2 separate regions of the Homo sapiens genome follow, and region 2 is linked to region 1. Evidence: promoter capture Hi-C in 16 types of primary human blood cells and fetal thymus (Javierre and others, 2016). All regions are on one chromosome and are shown on one strand. The core of a region is centred on a gene start or on the middle of the fragment in contact, and the rest is flanking DNA. Distances in the headings are between cores, read along the strand shown.

The links. Contacts are between HindIII fragments. The CHiCAGO score rates a contact against its expected background, and 5 or more counts as called.
Region 2: a fragment that was not itself captured here is called in contact with the fragment with the promoter of SMARCD2 in region 1 in 1 of 17 cell types (activated CD4 T cells); the score reaches 5.7 in activated CD4 T cells.

Annotation. Positions count from the first base shown.
Region 1 is chr17:63,840,203-63,844,004 of GRCh38, reverse strand. SMARCD2 (SWI/SNF related BAF chromatin remodeling complex subunit D2) reads left to right here and starts at 1,320. Exons shown (of 13, transcript NM_001098426.2): 1 at 1,320-1,546. The coding sequence starts at 1,331. RefSeq lists silencers at 828-997, 1,368-1,597 and an enhancer at 2,318-2,397. The HindIII fragment of the contact is 8,345 bases long and covers 1-3,802 here.
Region 2 is chr17:64,254,494-64,258,817 of GRCh38, reverse strand. All of the region lies in intron 1 of TEX2 (testis expressed 2), which reads left to right. Among named protein-coding and RNA genes, the nearest start is that of TEX2, 6.6 kb to the left of the region's middle. The HindIII fragment of the contact is 672 bases long and covers 1,764-2,435 here.

The DNA.
Region 1 (3,802 bases), core at 71-2,570:
ATACTTTGATACAGCACAGTGTACCTGAAAAGATACTGCATTTTTGAAAATTAAGTGCTATAAATACTGGAGAAAGACCTCTTTTTTTAAACTGCGGGGAGGTTTCTCATAAGCCAAATTTCTTTTGACTAGAAGCATTTTCTGGGGAGTAAAGTACCAGGCTTCCTTAAAGTGAGGCGGAGCCACGTTAAAAATGTGCGGTAGAACTCAGCCTTGGCCAAGTCGACCGTTCACCAGCTGGGTCAAGTCTGGAGCCTCCTAGGTCCCTTGGCAGTTCCGAGCTACCAGCATGAGCTTTTACAGGAAGTTGAGTTGGCTGCTGTTCTGCCCCACAGAGCAGCTGAGTCTTTTTTTTTTTTTTTTTTTTTTTTGATGAGTTTCACTCTTGCCGCCCAGGCTGGAGTGCAGTGGGGCGATCTCGGCTCATTGCAACCTCTGCCTCCAAGGTTCAAGCGATTCTCCTGCCTCAGCCTGCCGAGTAGCTTGGATTACAGGCGCCCGTCACCACACTCGGCTAATTTTTGTATTTTTAGTAGAGACGGGGTTTTCACCATGTTGGCCAGGCTGGTCTCGAACTTCTGACCTCAGGGGATCCGCCCGCCTCAGCCTCCCAAAGCGCTGGGATTACAGGCGTGAGCCACAGCTACCGACTCTGAGTTGAGTCTTTAACGCCGAAGATGCAGAAAGGAGACTTGACAAAACTATTTTCGGGGAGTGTGGCCGCGGAATTCGGTGAGGGTGCTATACCGGGAGAGAGTAGTAGCAACGGCTCATTCACTGTGAAGCCCCTAAGTGACCTTAGACCTCTGACCCCGCGCCTCACTCGGCGCTTCCGCGCGCAGCTTCCGCTCCCGCCCCTCCGACGAAAGGCTGGGCCAAAGGTGGGGGGGTGGGGCTCTGAGGTCGGCAGTTAGGGGCGGTGCCCGCTGGGGGCGGGTCTCGCGAGGGGCAGGATTCGAGGAGGCACTCGAGCATTGGGCACCAGGTAGAGGCGGGGCCTAGTGCTGGGCTGGGTTGGGCGGGGCAGGGAGTTCGTAGCCGCCTCTGGGTAACTCGACTCGGGCGGCCAAACCTCCGGAGGCCGGGGACGGAAGGCGGGCCCGCAGCAGATCCTGGATCCGGAATCTCCCGGGCAGGAGCGGAATCTGTCCCGAACCGGGTCTGTGAGGAACTCGCGAACTTGGATTAGGAAATCCCGGAGCCCGGATCGACAAATCCCGGAACCCGGAATTAAGATCGCCAAGTCCCGGATCGCGGAGCACAGAGCACGGAGTGGACTCGACGCGGAGCCCGGAGTCCGGATCGCGGCACCGCGGGACGGGACGGAGCGATGTCGGGCCGAGGCGCGGGCGGGTTCCCGCTGCCCCCGCTAAGCCCTGGCGGCGGCGCCGTGGCTGCGGCCCTGGGAGCGCCGCCTCCCCCCGCGGGACCCGGCATGCTGCCCGGACCGGCGCTCCGGGGACCGGGTCCGGCAGGAGGCGTGGGGGGCCCCGGGGCCGCCGCCTTCCGCCCCATGGGCCCCGCGGGCCCCGCGGCGCAGTACCAGGTGAGCAAGGAGGACGCGAGCGGACGGGGGCGAGAGGCGCTGCGAGGGCGCCCGGGCCGGCGGCTGAAGGGGCCTCGAGTGAGGGCCCTGGGGAATGCATGAGGAACTCCGGGAGACGGTGGAGGGCGGGCCGGGACCCTCGGGCTGCGGCGGGTCGCGGTGGAGAAGTGGGAAGGGGAAGCAGGTTCTGCAGCGGAGGGCTGGAAGCAGCTGGGAGGCCTGGGGGCTTCCGCGGCACAGGGATTCCGAGTGACTGGGAGATGGAGGAGTTTGGGGAGCCAGTGAATTGTGGCGGGTGGGTTGAGAAGTCTAGGGTAGGAGGGCTGGAAAGTGATGAGAAAGTTTGGGAAAGGGCCCTCGCTGAGAAACCGGGGTTACCCTGCATCGGCCTTGGTCCCAGTCCAAGTCTGCCCTGTTTTTTCTGATTGGGAACTGGCGGAGCTCTAGCGTGTCTGAGATGGCTCCCGGCTGCTAATAAGGAGGAAGGAGCCTGGCTTCCCACGGGCACGGGACGCTGAGGCTAGGGCCAGGGGATTCCAGCTTGTGCACGGGCGGACTTTACTCCTGAGGCAGGGCCAGGCGCCTTCGCTGGGAGGACTCCAGCTTAGACCAGAGACGGTGGTGGCCTGGCCTGAGGGGAGGCCCAGCCCAGTCACAGGCCGGCTCTCTTCTGGGCTTTCTGCCTCCTGTCATCGTGTCCGGGAGTTGATTAGTCTGGACGTGCAGAGTGGAGCCCTGCTGGTCTGGGGCCGGAGGAGTCTGCGAGAGTTGCTTCAAAGAGTGCTGTCCTGACCCCTTTGGGGTTTTGAGAGCTGCTCAGATTGCAGCTTCAAAAGCCCTTGCAAAGCAGCGACTTCTGCTCAGTGTGTGAGGACCTCAGCCTGACCCTGCCAGTGCTCTAGTCTGCTGTTCAGGTTGCCCCAGAGGGCTTGGAAACTGTGCCCATCTGCCTTGTCACCCTCTCTGCATTTTTATTTGGCCTTCAGGTTCTAACTCCACCACGTCCGAAGCCATGTGCCCAAGCATTTGACACTGGCTTCTTGCTCATCTACGGGTTTGCTGTGGGCTTCCTCTGTTTTCGACTCATGTCTCCAGGCAGAGGTCCTTAGGGATCCTCGTGGAGTATACACAGCCTACCTGCCCCACTGGGCCCTCACTTCTAAGGAGATGGCTTAACTAGGGACAGTGACTGGATTTTTTTTTCCTTCTTACTCCTCATTCTTCCTCCTTTCTCAAGAGAAAAGAGAGTCTGGGTATGGGCAGAGACAGACCTGGTCCCAGGGATTCCAGCTGGGGCTCATCTCTCCCACCTTGCTGTCCCCGTTGGGGATTCATGGGCCCAGGGTGTTGCTGAGGGCTCCCTGCATCATTCATTGTAGCCCTTGGGCCTGCCCACTGAGACCTGGCCTGGGCACCATCTGTGGGCCTTTGGCCTTGGAAGGACCTGGAACAGACAAGCCGCTCCAGTTTCCTTGGCATGCAAGCCATAGGAAATGTGCCCTTGGGACAGCCCCTGAGAGGATGGATTCCACATGTTTTGGTGGGGGGTGGCCTTGGGCCTGTGGCAAGGCCAAGCTGGCTGGCTGGTTAGGCCTGGGCTGCTAGCTGTGCGGAAGTAGGAGATGGCCCTGAGTCTGGGTTTCCCATCCCACTAGCTTTCCTCCTCCTGGCAGGAGAGGTAGATGGGAAGGAGAACCCAGCCAGCTAACTTTGGCTGAGTTTGAAGAGGATCCTATTTGCCTTCTTTCCAAGTCCAGTTGTATGACTGCCAGGAGAAGGGACTTGAGATCTGGGAAACAAAGGGGTTCCTGTCTGTTAGGGCTCATGAGATGCACTTGAAAAGTGAGAATTTGAGGCCCAAGCTGAGCAAATAGTTGAAAGAAGGGAAGTGATGACCTCCCTTCCTCCAGAGGGTGGTTCTAGCTGTGGATCACAGTTAACAGAGGAACCTAAAAAAAGAAAAAGAAAAGAAAAAAACCTCCAGGGCAGGATATGGTGGGCTCACACCTGTAATCCTAGCACTTTGGGAGGCCCAGACAGAAGGATTACTTGAGACCAGGAGTTCAAGACCAGCCTAAGCAACATAGTGAGACCATCATCTCTTAAAAAAAAAAAAAAAAATTTAGCCAAGCATGGTGGTGTGCGCTTATGGTCCCAGCTACTCAGGATGCTGTGGCAGGAGGATTGCTTGAGTCCAGGAGTTCAAGGCTGCATTGAGCTATGATCCTGCCACTGCACTCCAGCCTGGGCAACAAA
Region 2 (4,324 bases), core at 850-3,349, 410 kb before region 1:
ACTGCACTCCAGCCTGGGTGACAGAGTGAGACTCTGTTTAAAAAAAAAAAAAAAGTCTCTCTTCCAAAATGAAGAGTTGATTTCTTAGTGCCATCCCCTACTGCTAGCAGTCTCATAGATTATATGAGTTTATGATTCTAAGAATCTGAGAAATTAAACAATTGAAAGAAAATGATTGTATTCAGGACTTTTGAAGTCTCAGGTGTTTGTGATAGTGCTTTGAAAAACAAAACAATACGCAGGTGATAACAATGTGAGTAACTATCATTTACGGGGAATCGTGTGCCAGGCACTGTTCCTACCTTTAAACTTTATACCACCCTATGAATAGTAGATACTATTATCAATCTTATTTTAAGATGAGAAAACTGAGGCTCAGAAAGGTTAAATAACTTTCCAAGATTACACAGCAAGGTCAAGGACTGATAGCTGGGCCTAGAATACTGGCTTATGTTGCTCCCCAGTGGATGCCTGAAACCATGGATAGTGCTGAACCGTATATACACCACGTTTTTTTCCTATGCATGTATACCTATAATAAAGTTTAATTTATAAATTAGACACGGTAAGAGATTAACAATATAACTAATAAAAATAGAACAGTTGGGCCAGGTGCGGTGGCTCACACCTGTAATCCCAGCATTTTGGGAGGCTGAGGTGGGCAGATTGCCTGAGCTCAGGAGTTCCAGACCAGCCTGGGCAACACAGTGAAACCCCATCTCTACCAAAATACAAAAAATTAGCCAGGTGTGGTGGTGTGCACCTGTAGTTCCAGCTACTCAGGAGGCTGAGGCAGGAGAATCGCTTGAGCCCAGGAGGCGGAGGTTGCAGTGAGCCAAGATTGCACCATTGCATTCCAGCCTGGGCGACAGAGCGAGACTCCATCTCAAAAAAAAAAAAAGAACGGTTATAACAACCACATATTGTTCACAATTTTCGGAGATAGAAGATTCATTCTTAACATAGATCTTAGCAACCTCAGTACAAGATTTTTTCCTTTCCTAAGTTGTGAAGTTTGACTTTTTCACTTAAAGGAAGCACTTTACAGCTTCACTTTGGCGTATCCAAATTGCCAGCGTCATTAATCTTGTGCTTTGGGGCTGTTATTAAGTAAAATAAGCGTTACTTGAACACAAGAACTGTAATATGGTGACAGTTGATCTGATAACTGAGACAGCTAAAGGTGACTAATGAGTAGGTAGCGCCTACGGCGTGGATCTGCTGGACAAAGGGAGGATTCACATCCTGGGCAGGATGGGATTGGACAGTGAGAAATTTCATGACACTACCCAGAATGGCATGCAGTTTAAAACTTGCGAATTGTTTATTTCTGCAATTTTCCATTTGATATTTTCAGAACTTGGTTGGCTATGGGTGACGGAAACTGCAGATAAGTGGGGACTACTTGTATTGGGAGAACTTTGTTAAACTTAAAGAATTAACTCTTATTGCAGAAGACTTAAGTCCTTGAAAGGAAAGGCTTTTCTTTGGTGAACAAAAGCCATGTGCCAGGTCACTGTGAGCATAAATGGGACTATTGAGAGAAGAATCTAACCTTTCTGTGTGGAAGCTGGGAGAATGGGAAATGTGGGTGGGCTTTGAAACAACCAGGTAACCTTTGTCTGCTGGATTTGCCTGGAATATTGGTTCTAAGGGCTTTTCCCTAAGAAGATTATTGCAACAAACACATTAAGTGCCTCCCCAGCTTATTCTAACAGTTGAAAGCAGCACTGGGCAAGAGGAGCTGGCTTCAGTCATAAGCTTATTTAGGATCTGAGATTAAAACCTACCCGTTGGATTGCTCCTGCAAATAACCTTTCAGAATCCCAATATGCATTTTATAAGTTTCATTTCTCTTGCTGTTCAAAGCTGACATAAGCTGGCTTGTTTTCTTATTCAATTTTCAGTCCTTTCTTGGACCTCATGCTGTCTTTTGGGCTGTATTCTTATAGATGGTTATATTTATTATTTTAGGCTCAAAATAGAGAATTTAAAAATCTTTTTACTGAAAGGATTGACTGAACAGTGATCGTCATTCAGCAAGTATTTGAGCATCTACCAGGGCCAAGCATTGTGCTTGGCATTGGAAATCTGATGGGGAGCAAAACAGATGTGGTTCCTTCCTGCACAAAGCACATTATCTAGTCTAGACAACAAACAAGTCAATAGACATATGCATCATATATATTGGATTGTAATATGTGTAAAATCTCCTTCCTCTGAAGGAAAAGAACAGGGCACCAAGAAAGAAAGAAAAGGAAGAAACCAGCAACTGGGGGTCTTGGGCAGAGCATTTCAAGAGAGAGAGCAACGTGGATGTCTGGCTGCTGTGCAGAGGGGCAGAGAGGGGAATATGGGAAGGGCAGGCTCAGAAGGTGCCATTCTGCAGAGGACATGTCACAAGGCAGCATAGTGTAGCAGGGAGAGCAGAAGCTTGGGAACCAGACACTGCTCAAGGGGCCTCGGGAAGTTTCTTAACCTCTTTTGCCTCACTTTCCCACCTCCAAGATGCTATGAGGGTTGAATGAGCCTTGAGAGCCATGCCTGGCATGTACAGAAAGGACTGTGGGTAGGGTTTGCTGACTCTCAGGGCTGTGGGGAACTTGATTTCGAGTGGATGAGCTTCTCTTCCTAGTCAGCATTTCCCATGATTCCATGTGTAGCGTAACCATAGGGCAGAAGGTAAAACTAAGACAGCTGAGTAGGTGTATCCATGGAGGCATTCTAAGGTAGATTATGTTGGACTTTCTGTGGTGTGCTAAGCATTCAGCACCCGTACCTGGGAGACTTGGCCCTACCTGTAGGCATCTCTGCAGTGGGTGCAGTCCTGAGTGTGGAGCAAGGTGGACCGGAAGCAGCTGTTCCTCTGCTCTTGCCTGCAGTTGTTTGCTTTAGTGTTTGGATGCGGGCAGATCTTTCACCTTTTTTCCTGATAAGAGGAGACAGAGACTACTGGCCTTACAGCCAGGTGGTCAAACATGACAACTCGGAGTTGCTGTGTGCAAAACCTGCCTGAACCCCATCTCCAGCGAGATTTGATGATGTTTCCCCATTCAAAGGAACAACCACGCCTCAGGACCATACAAGGAGAGGACTTCATGAAACAGGTCACTGGCTTGGGATAGTCAATAAAGTGCTATGAACCCAGCCATATTTAAGTTATAGTTATCTTGTAAAGTATGTGTGAGGCCTCATCAAATTTGTATATAATTGACTAAGTTTTTCAAAATATCTTTTGCTCTGGAATTTTAAAAAACATACACAAAAGTGAAGAATAATATAATGGATATCAGGCATCTATTACTCAATTTTGATAATTATCAACTTTTGCTAATCTTGTTCCAAGATAGTTCCACAATGAAGCATTGTTGGTGGATTTTCTGTCACAGTATAAATGTGTCTTTGGACTATAAAATCATTTGGTAGATATTCTAGAGAAAAAAATGCCTGCACACTGCATAATTATAGGGCTGGTGTTAGGTAGTTGAAATTCAGAATCTGAAATGAACATTTAGTGGAAACCTCTTACAGACTTGTGTATGAGAAGTAGGCATATAAAATTAAGAGTGCTTTCAAGATGACCAGTTAGTCTATGTATTTACTAAGTAGCAACTGTACTGGGCAGTGTGCAAGGTACATTTTTTTTTTTTAAAGGCCAGGTGCTGTGGCTTATGTCTGCAATCCCAGCACTTTGGGAGACCGAAGTGGAGGATCACTTGAGGCCAAGAGTTTGAGACCAGCCTAGGCAACATAGTGAGACCCTGCCTCTACAAAAAAAAAAAAAAAAAAGCCAGATGCAGTGACACACACCTGTAGTCCTAGCTACTTGGCAGGCTGAGCTGGGAGGAGGATTGCTTAAGCCTGGGAATTCAAGGCTGCTGTGAGCCATGATGGCACCACTGCACCACAGCGTTGGTGACAGAATAAGACCCTGTATCTAAAAATCAAACAAACAAAAAAGGACAGTGTTTGTCCACAGTGGCTCATAAAATTATGAGCCCATGATGAAGTCACAGGTTATTTTCAAACATTCTTAGCAAATGAATTTTACACAAAGCCCAAACTGTGAAACTGATTAAGAAGCAGTATTTTAGTGGCATATGTTACTTTAAGTTCAATTTATAGTATTCACTTGTAGCATGAAACAGGACACAAGTTAATATGTCGAAAGTTTCTATATGTTGAATTTCATTTTTATTTTTTAAAGGGGAAATTCACATCAAACATGCAAACAACCCTGTAGCAGTGCCTCTGTGCATCATGGTACAACAGACCATTAAACATTTGAAAGGTGGTTAGTGCAACTGAGAATTGGAAGCTTTAA